3 separate regions of the Homo sapiens genome follow, and regions 1 and 2 are each linked to region 3. Evidence: promoter capture Hi-C in 16 types of primary human blood cells and fetal thymus (Javierre and others, 2016). All regions are on one chromosome and are shown on one strand. Each heading gives the region's core, a stretch centred on a gene start or on the middle of the fragment in contact. The rest is flanking DNA. Distances are from core to core; before and after follow the strand shown.

The links. Contacts are between HindIII fragments. The CHiCAGO score rates a contact against its expected background, and 5 or more counts as called.
Region 1: a fragment that was not itself captured here is called in contact with the fragment with the promoter of ENTPD3-AS1 in region 3 in 13 of 17 cell types (M1 macrophages, fetal thymus, total CD4 T cells and 10 more); the score reaches 9.8 in M1 macrophages.
Region 2: a contact is called between a fragment that was not itself captured here and the fragment with the promoter of ENTPD3-AS1 in region 3, in 3 of 17 cell types (total CD4 T cells, M2 macrophages and M1 macrophages). The highest score is 6.8, in total CD4 T cells.

The regions. Positions count from the first base shown.
Region 1 is chr3:41,875,736-41,878,482 of GRCh38, reverse strand. All of the region lies in intron 17 of ULK4 (unc-51 like kinase 4), which reads left to right. Among named protein-coding and RNA genes, the nearest start is that of ULK4, 85 kb to the left of the region's middle. The HindIII fragment of the contact is 3,624 bases long and covers 1-2,747 here.
Region 2 is chr3:41,894,678-41,897,793 of GRCh38, reverse strand. It overlaps ULK4 (unc-51 like kinase 4), which reads left to right. Exons shown (of 37, transcript NM_017886.4): 15 at 791-972; 16 at 2,230-2,276. Among named protein-coding and RNA genes, the nearest start is that of ULK4, 66 kb to the left of the region's middle. The HindIII fragment of the contact is 3,983 bases long and covers 1-3,116 here.
Region 3 is chr3:40,452,058-40,455,014 of GRCh38, reverse strand. ENTPD3-AS1 (ENTPD3, EIF1B and MYRIP antisense RNA 1) reads left to right here and starts at 1,707. Exons shown (of 4, transcript NR_040100.1): 1 at 1,707-1,893. RefSeq lists enhancers at 1,814-1,883, 1,904-1,973. The HindIII fragment of the contact is 7,917 bases long and covers 1-2,901 here.

The DNA.
Region 1 (2,747 bases), core at 30-2,529, 1.4 Mb before region 3:
GTTCCTCTTCATAGGTCAGTTTTCAGAATAAAGAGTTGGTACCTGAGAAATCTCCGTGTCTAGTGAGATTGATTTTATATTGTTAAGAACTTACAGGTGTATATATGTATATGTATATCGTCTAGTCCTTTGCAGTCATTAGTCTTTTTGATGCTTACATTGTTTCATCTCCATCCAGTGGGAGCTCTTTCAAGTTTGCTCCTTTCTCCCTTTGACATGAGCCTACTCCTGTCTCTGACAGCTTGCTGGCTTCTCGGCAGTGAGCTTTCATAGGCTTGTTTCGGGAATAGTCAACCCCTAGTTTTGAAACCACTTCTATAAGGAATCTTGTTTACTTTGTTAGAAGATGTAGTTAGAGAACTCAATCTGGGTTCTCTAGGTTTTTTTTTTTTTTTTTTTTTCCTGGTAGAGCTTTTCAGAGGTTAGATCTAGGTACTATTGTTTCTTAAAAAGAGAAAAATTCACAGTTTATTCTGCTTTTCCAATTCAGATTTTTTTATTGAGACAGAGTTTTGCTCTTGTTGCCCAGGCTGGAGTGCGACGGCGCGATCTCGGCTCACCGCAACCTCTGCCTCCCGGGTTCAAGCGATTCTCCTGCCTTAGCCTCTTGAGTAGCTGAGATTACAGGCATGCACCATCATGCCCGACTAATTTTGTATTTTTAGTAGAGATGGGGTTTCACCATGTTGGCCAGGCTGGTCTCAAACTCCTGACCTCAGGTGATCCACCCACCTTGGCCTCCCAAAGTTCTGGGATTATAGCGGTGAGCCACCACGCCTGGCTCCAATTCAGATTTAAAATTCGTTTTTACCTTTTGATTTACAATTTTTATTTTTCTTCTCATAAGCTAAAATTCCTGGCTGGGGCGGTGGCTCATGCCTGTAATACCAGCACTTTGGGAGCTGAGGTGGGTGGATCACTTGAGTTCAGGCGTTCGAGACCAGCTTGGCCAACATGGCAAAACCCCATCTCTACTAAAAATACAAAAATTAGCCGAGCATAGTGATGCACGCCTGTAATCCTGGCTCCTTGGGAGGCTGGGGCATGAGAATTGCTTGAACCCAGGAGGCGGAGGCTGCTGGGATCGGACCACTGCGCTCCAGCCTAGGCAACAGAGCAAGACTCTGTCTCAAAAAAAAACACTCTTGGCCATTAATAACATTAACATAATTATCTTTTTTTTTAGCTTAGAGTTTAGAATAGTTTAAAAATAGTACACGTATTGTTACTAACAACAAAACTACAAAGTGCATTTTAAGTACTTTTTTTCCCTTGGGATATAACCCACTGGATGATATGTACAGTCAAAACGCTGAGTTTTAAAAGCAATTTATATAATTCTTCACTTTGTACTTTTGTCACCAATATGATATATAGTTACATATGTTTTCAATTTTTTTTAGATATTTAGAGATTACTTTGTACTTTCTTTCTGGTTTGAAAATTATAATTCTTTTTTATTGAAGTGTTGGAAATACATACAAAACATAAATGTATTGCTTAATGAATTATTGCCAAGTGTGAAAACCCAATAAACTGTCACTGGGTCAAGAAACAGAACATTAAGTAGAACATTGCCAGCATACCCGGGGATCCTCTTGTGCTCTCTCCTGATCACTGTTCTCTCCCTTTGTGCCAAAGGAAGTTACCGTAACTTCCAATTCTGTCATGATTTTGCCGGCTTTTGAATTTTGTTTAAATTGAGTCATATGATATGTATACTTTGGTATCTGGCTTCTTTTATTTCATATTATGTTTATGGAATTCATCCTTGTTGCCTGTACCTGTAGTTCATTTTTATTACATGAGTATACTACATCACTGGTGATGGGCATTTGGATTGTTTTCTGTATTTGGCTATTAAAAGCCTTGCACACACATTTTGATGCACTTGCGCAAGCTCTCTGTTGGATATGTGTAGGAATGGAATTGGTAGGTTACAGGATATGTGTGTGTTCAACTTTAGGGGGTAATCTAAACTGTTTTCCAGTAAGGTTGTATAAGTTAAAATGCTTTGACTAATGAAAGAATGTTCAGTGCTCTGTATTCTCATGAATACTTGGTGTTGGCATAAAATCATGTTAAATAAGTATTTACCAGTTTCCTCTTTGTTTTTAACATTAATGGTTATTGAGTTTGGTATGGCATCAGAAGATAGGAGTATTTAATTTTTCTTCCTATCTCTATTAATAGGTGGATTATATTAATGGAATTCCTAAAAATAAATCACCTTTGCATCATTATAAGAAACAACTTGGTGCTCTCTATAATTCACTGTTGGAGTCTCTTTCCTCATGTTTTTTTCTAGAATTGTTCCTCTATTTTTTCTTGCCACATTACATTGATTCTTGGAGAGTCCAGGCTGTTTGTCCTGTTGAATATTCCACATTCCAGATTTGTCTGCTTGCTTTTTTTGGTATTGCTAACTTATTCCTCTAGTCCACACATTTCCTATAAACTGTAGGTTAGGTCTGGACGCTTCATTAGATTTAGGTTGAACCTTTTTTTTTTTTTTTTGGTAAGAACATATCATAGGTGATACTGGGTACTTCATATTTGAACTCATCAGGAAGCATGCAGTGTCAGGTTTTAATAGTTGCACCTACTTTGATCATTTGATTAAAGTAGTGCTGCCAGAGAGCTCCATTGTAAAGGTACATCTTTTCCTTTGCAGTGCCACTTTAGCTCTCATGTGATGTATGCAATAAGAGCATAATATTAAAACTTATATAGATTATAACTGCTGT
Region 2 (3,116 bases), core at 23-2,522, 1.4 Mb before region 3:
ATATTTAGGTTTAAATAAACCAGCTAAGGGTTTATATTGGTCAACTTAATTACTGATAAAAACAAAAAAGAAACTGTGTAGAAGGACGTTTTTGAAAGGCCAAGTGAAGCAAAGTATTATTAATAGTGCTTTCAGTGCCAAGTAGGACTATTTACGCAAACCTAGAGAATTATCACCTGGAAATACTATTTCCCTTTTCTTCTTTGAGTTATTTAGGAGATTATATTTACAATTTATTTTGTCTAAAGATAGAGATCAGCCAAAAATATGTTAATTTTAGGGGGTATCACATTTCCTAGATTTTGCCTTTTTTTTGTATAGGGATTTGGAGGTAGGAATTTCAGGTGATTTTTAGCTATCATGTTATTCTCGTTATTTTTTTTACAATAATTTTATTGGAACTTTTTAAGAACTGTAGGATTTGTGCTTTTCTCAATATTTGAGAGTTGATTTATTTATACAAAGGCTCTTTTGTCTTTTACTCCAGTTGTATTGAACTTTGCATTTTGTTATAGTGTAGGTTGTGGGACAGTTCTGCTTTAGACATCTGCTTTATTTGAAAGTATAGTTTTCCATTGAAGTGGTTAAAAAGTTTCCGTGGATAGATAAAGAGATTAGGAATATAGAAGGACGAATAAAAATAGTGTCATCTTTGGAGTATTTTTGGTTTTGACAGTGTAATGTTTGTCCTCATCTTAGCTGTCGTAATTCTGTGTTTATTTCTTATGTAATGTTTCCAGCAGTTCTTTTTCTCATCATATGTACTTTTATTATTTTCTTTCCATCGCAGTGGATAAGTTATTATTTCTGAAAGATCAAGATTGGAATGACTTTTTGCAACAAGTGTGCTCGCAGATCGACTCCACTGAGAAGAGCATGGGGGCCTCCCGAGCCAAGCTGAATCTCCTTTGCTATTTGTGCGTGGTGGCTGGTCACCAGGAGGTGGCCACCAGGCTCCTCCATTCCCCCCTGGTAAGCCTGTGTGACATGCCTTATGCATTTTAATTTGTGTTTTTATAGAGGCTCAAACAAGTGCTAAAATAACAATTTGATTTAACTACCACAAAAAAACTGATTTATCACGATTTTAGGTTTATGAAAATTATCCTCTGCTTAATCCTTAGGTCCTAAAGTAGATGACAGTAGATGGTGATTTTGAACTTATTTTGTTTGTTTGTTTGTAATACTCAGGTTTCCATTTTATGTTAACTTGTAAGATTTAAAAAAAAATCTGAAATCAGGCTGGGCGTAGTGGCTCATGCCTGTAATCCCAGCACTTTGGGAGGCCAAGGTGGGTGGATCACCTGAGGTCAGGAGTTCGAAACCAGCCTGGCCAACATGGTGAAACCCTGTCTCTACTAAAAGTACAAAATTAGCTGGGTGTGGCAGTGCACTCCTGTAATCCCAGCTACTTGGGAGGCTGAGGCAGGAGAATCACTTGAACCCGGGAGGCAGAGGTTGCAGTGAGCTGAGATCGCACCACAGCACTCCAGCCTGGGCAAAAAAAGTGAAACTCCATCTCAAAAAATAAAAATAAAAAAAAAGTGATATCATAAGACAGACCTTTTACCTTCTCATTAGTGACTGGAATGAACTCCCCATGTGGAATGGGTCGGGGGTGTCGGTTCCTTTACTGGGTCATCTGGTAAACTGCAGGGTTTCTGATGTGACATTGAAGGAAGACATCAATCCTCTAAGACATTTTTTTCCTCTTCCCCTGGGAATATTACTTTTTGGACTGTCTTGGTCTGTTGGTAAGCTCAAGGGAATTTGTCAGAGTTTTTTTGGTTTTTGTTTCTTTTGGCTCATGTTTAAGCATCGATTGGCAGAGTTTTTGAAGTCATCCTCAGAGAGGAATTACAGTGGTTCGGAGGTGTTTTCTATAGTGGTCCCTCATTTGGGAATTGGCTTGAAAAAATTTAAGTTCATTTGCTTCCAGGATAGTATTAAGGTTACTTTTTTTGATAGTTGGTGTGTGTCTATCAGGTAAGGGCAGTCATTTAGCGAATATAAAGTGGTAGGAGAAACTAAAAATACTGTTCTTAGTTTTTATTTTAATCTTATTCGTATACTAGTGCCTTTGTAATTTAGTAAATACCATTTTTGGTGTACAGTGTAAATTTCCTTTGTATAAAGTCCTGAGCTGTTAACTTTGCTGTCATTTTCTGTGTTTTGTGACTTAAACATTTTAATTTTTTCTTTTCTTTACACTTAAATTTCTTATTCTAGTTCCAATTGCTAATCCAGCATTTGCGGATAGCTCCAAACTGGGATATGTAAGTAACGTTTATATTTTAAAAATTATTTTTCATGACTTTATTAAGTAGTTACAGAGCACATATTTATCAAAAGCAGAGTCCTAAATAATTATCATAAATTATTCTGATGTAATGATGACTCTACTCATAGGCAATTTTTATGGGCATTCCAATGATAAATTTTAGAATATTAAAAATAGCCCTTCTCCTAATATTACAAATACAATTCTGGGATTATCTAAGGTACTCCTGGAAACTTTATTAACTGTTATTGTTTTTTTATTTTCTTAGAGACAAGGTCTCTCACTATGTTGCACAGGCTGGTTTTGAACTCCTGGGCTCAAGTGATTCTCCCATCTCTGACTCCCAAAGTGTTAGGATTACAGGTGTGAGCCACTGTGCCTGGCTAACTGTTACTGTTTTGAGTATTGATTATAAAATACTTAAACCCTGATCCCTGTGTATTAATTTAGTTATACTTCCTCGAAGTTTCCCTTGGCCACCCTTATCTTTCCCTCATGTAGCACATAGCTTCCCTAGATGTTATTTACAATCTAATGGGATTATGATTTATAAACTCCCGATGGAAGGAAGTGTCCTTGCTTTTTACAGAAGCAACATACCAGGTGGAGAGCACAGTAGATCAAGTGTTAGAAGGCTCTGGGTTCTGTTTGCCAATAAGACTTGGCCAAATGATTATCTTTTTCTCAATCTCTGCTTCCTGGGGACTGTGGGTGGGACAAGGAAATGGCATAGGTTTAGGATTCAGACAGACCTGGGTGTGGATCAAAGATCAGCTTTCTGGGCCAAGTACTTTAATTGCTGAGCCTCAGTTTCCTCATCTGTAAAATTGGGATG
Region 3 (2,957 bases), core at 458-2,957:
CCACACTGGTCTTGAATGGGCCAAGCTCTCTCCTCCTCCATGACCTTTATACATGGTGTCTCTCTTGCCAGGAATGGTCTACCCATTGTTAATACTCATCGTGTAGCAGTGCCAACTTATCTCTTGTATTTTTTCCTAGATATTTTTCTGAGAGTTAACCAGGCTACCACATAAAAAAAGGTTAAGTCCCCACCCTTCTTTTTCTAGCTCACCTTGTTTCCCTCAGAGTTATCACAATTGCAATTGTTTGACTTGTTTTGCTGCCCACGTAGGTGTTGTTTCGTTCCAGTTAGAATAAGTTCCATGAGGGCAGGACCTTTGCTGTCTTTTCTGTTTTATTTTCTCACCTTAGTCTGGTAAGGGGCTCAATAAATAGGTAGTGAATGAATCAGTCTTTAGGTCTTGTTGTCTTGCTTTATAATTTACAAAGCAAAAGATATGAATGAAGAAGAATGTTCATTTTAGCATTTTTTTTGCTACTATCTCCAAACTGGAAATTACCCAAAGGCCCATAAACAAGAGACTGGATAAATTGTGATAACAATCTATAGCAACGGAGTCTACAGCAACTACATGGAACAATGCGGATGAATTTCATAAATAACACTAACAAATAAGCTGACACAATATATCCTGTATGCTTTTATTTATATCAAATTCAAAACAGGCAAAACTAATCTACAGTTCTTATAAGTAATGATCATATTTACCTTTGGTGCAGGCAGCAGTGGCTAAAGGGGAAAAGGGGAGCTTCTGAGCTGCTGGCCATGTTGTTTCTTCATCTGGTGTTAACTACGGGAGTGTGTTATTATTTTTGTTTTAAATTTTTTTAGAGACGGGTCTTGCTATGTTGCCCAGGCTGATCTGGTACTCCTGGCCTCAAGCCATTCTCCTGCCTAAGCCTCCCGAGTAGCTGGGATTAGGGGCACGGGCCACCCCGCCTGGCTGAAGTGTTTGCTTGTGAAAATTCAGAGCCCTATCCATATGGTTTATGCGTTTTCTCACCAAATGTATGTTAACCTAAAAAGTTTTTTTTTAATGCAGTTTCCTGGCTGTACAACCAGAGAACTTTATTTGCAGGTCTGGTGAGGGGCAAGAATCTGCATATAAAAACAAGCTCTCAAACACACTTTGAACTTCCCCGAACACAATTTGAGAAACACTTTGGGACTCCCCCTACAGTTACAGAATTATTTTCTAAAGTACATTATCTTGTTATATCACTCCTGTTTAAAGTTGATTTTTATCCCCTATCTTACAGGATATAGTCCAAACTCCCTAGTCTGGCATTCAAGGCACTCCAAAATCTTACTCCCAAACACCTTCCTAGCTTTTTTCTCCGACCATTCTGCGTCTCTCATTCCTATTTCCCGCAGCATTTCATGCAGCTTGAGCCCCCTGTTTCCTAAAATGTGCTCCCCACAAGCATCTCGAGATCCCCATCCCAGGCAGCCCCAGGCAGTTTTTAAGTTTCTACCAAGCTCCACTATACTGGCAAGGCAACTTTCCCCAAGCAAGTCTTGTTTCCTTCGGAAGGTCGCAGGCGCCCAGGAATGAACAGGATAACTGCTAGTGGCTCCAGATGTCAGAAAACAGATGACCAGATCGAGCACGCGCAGATCTCTGGTTGGTCGGCTGTGTGCCTCCGGAAGGCCCGCCCTGCTCGTCCAATCACGGAGAGGGAGGGCACGTTGAGAGTGATGCCAGGAATCAAGATGGCCGCCTGGGACCGCTCTCAGCCCCTTCGGCCTCTACCTGAAGAGCCACGCCCCGTCTGCTACACCCAACTGATTGGTTCCTCAATCACAGAGAGGAAAGGCAACATGAGGATGACGTCAGTTACAAATATGGCGTTTTGGACGGGCTCGATAGTTTGCTTGGCCTCTACTCAAGGTGCGTCCGGACGTCCAATCACCAAGGGGCGCAGTCGGCTCTTAAATGTGGAGGCAGGGGCCTAGACACTCAGGCTTAGGGGATGTCAGCTGGTACTGTGTACGAGCTGTCCTGTAAACCGTCGCCCGTCCCCTGAAGCCGCGCCCCTCTTCTCTTGCTTGTTGCAAGGGACGGATGTGAAGGGCTGGGCGGGCGTCGAGCTTTGGGTTCTTGCAGTGGGTCATAGACCTGAGGGCACTAGTCCCGCGGCCCAGATGGGGGATGCGAGGGACAGTAGGAGCACGTCCACTTGTCCCACAGTCTCTGCGGTGTCACGAGGCCAGGACTGCCTGCCTGTAACCAGATTGGCCCCTGTATTTGTCAGCTTCAGCTGACTAGATATGTCTCAGTTTTGTTTGTTCAGACACTGGCGATGGGGGCGTCAGTTTAGCAGACAAAATATTTACCTGTAGCCCCAAAGAAAAAGAAACATAAGTCAGTACAAGAATCAAACCAAAAGCTGTGCAGAACCCTGACTTTCTTTCTTGTTCTTAATAACTAACCTTCCAGAGAAGTGACCTAACCCTAGTTATGACCAAATTGACATGGTAGCCATGTGCATAACTACCTGGCAACGTGGACAGGTGCATTTGTATTTAGGAGTGAAAAAATGTTTGTTGTATCAGTTTTTGAAATTTGCAATCTTAGGAACCCTGAAGCTGAGCAAGACTGTTCAAGCCCAGTCAGCCTAAGACCACCAGGGACAAACCTGTAGTCAGCAAAACCAGGTCTATCGATCTTTTTTAATGAGGGAGATTGCACACCAGAGACACCATGGGACATTTTACCAGGGGAAGGAAAATATAAAGTTACAGGATTTTGAGGAAGTGTAAAGTTTAGATGGAACTTAAATGAAGCAGGGTTTTAATAGCCTCAAAACAAAGCAGGACTGTGAAAAAGGGTCAACATCAGGCCTAGACTGCAGAGTGGACCCATTGTCCTGTTTTTTTGAAAACCTTTTCTGAAGCTTTGCAACTGGCTGCTTGTAAATTGAAGCTGTATCTCTGTGTTAAAGTGACTTAGGT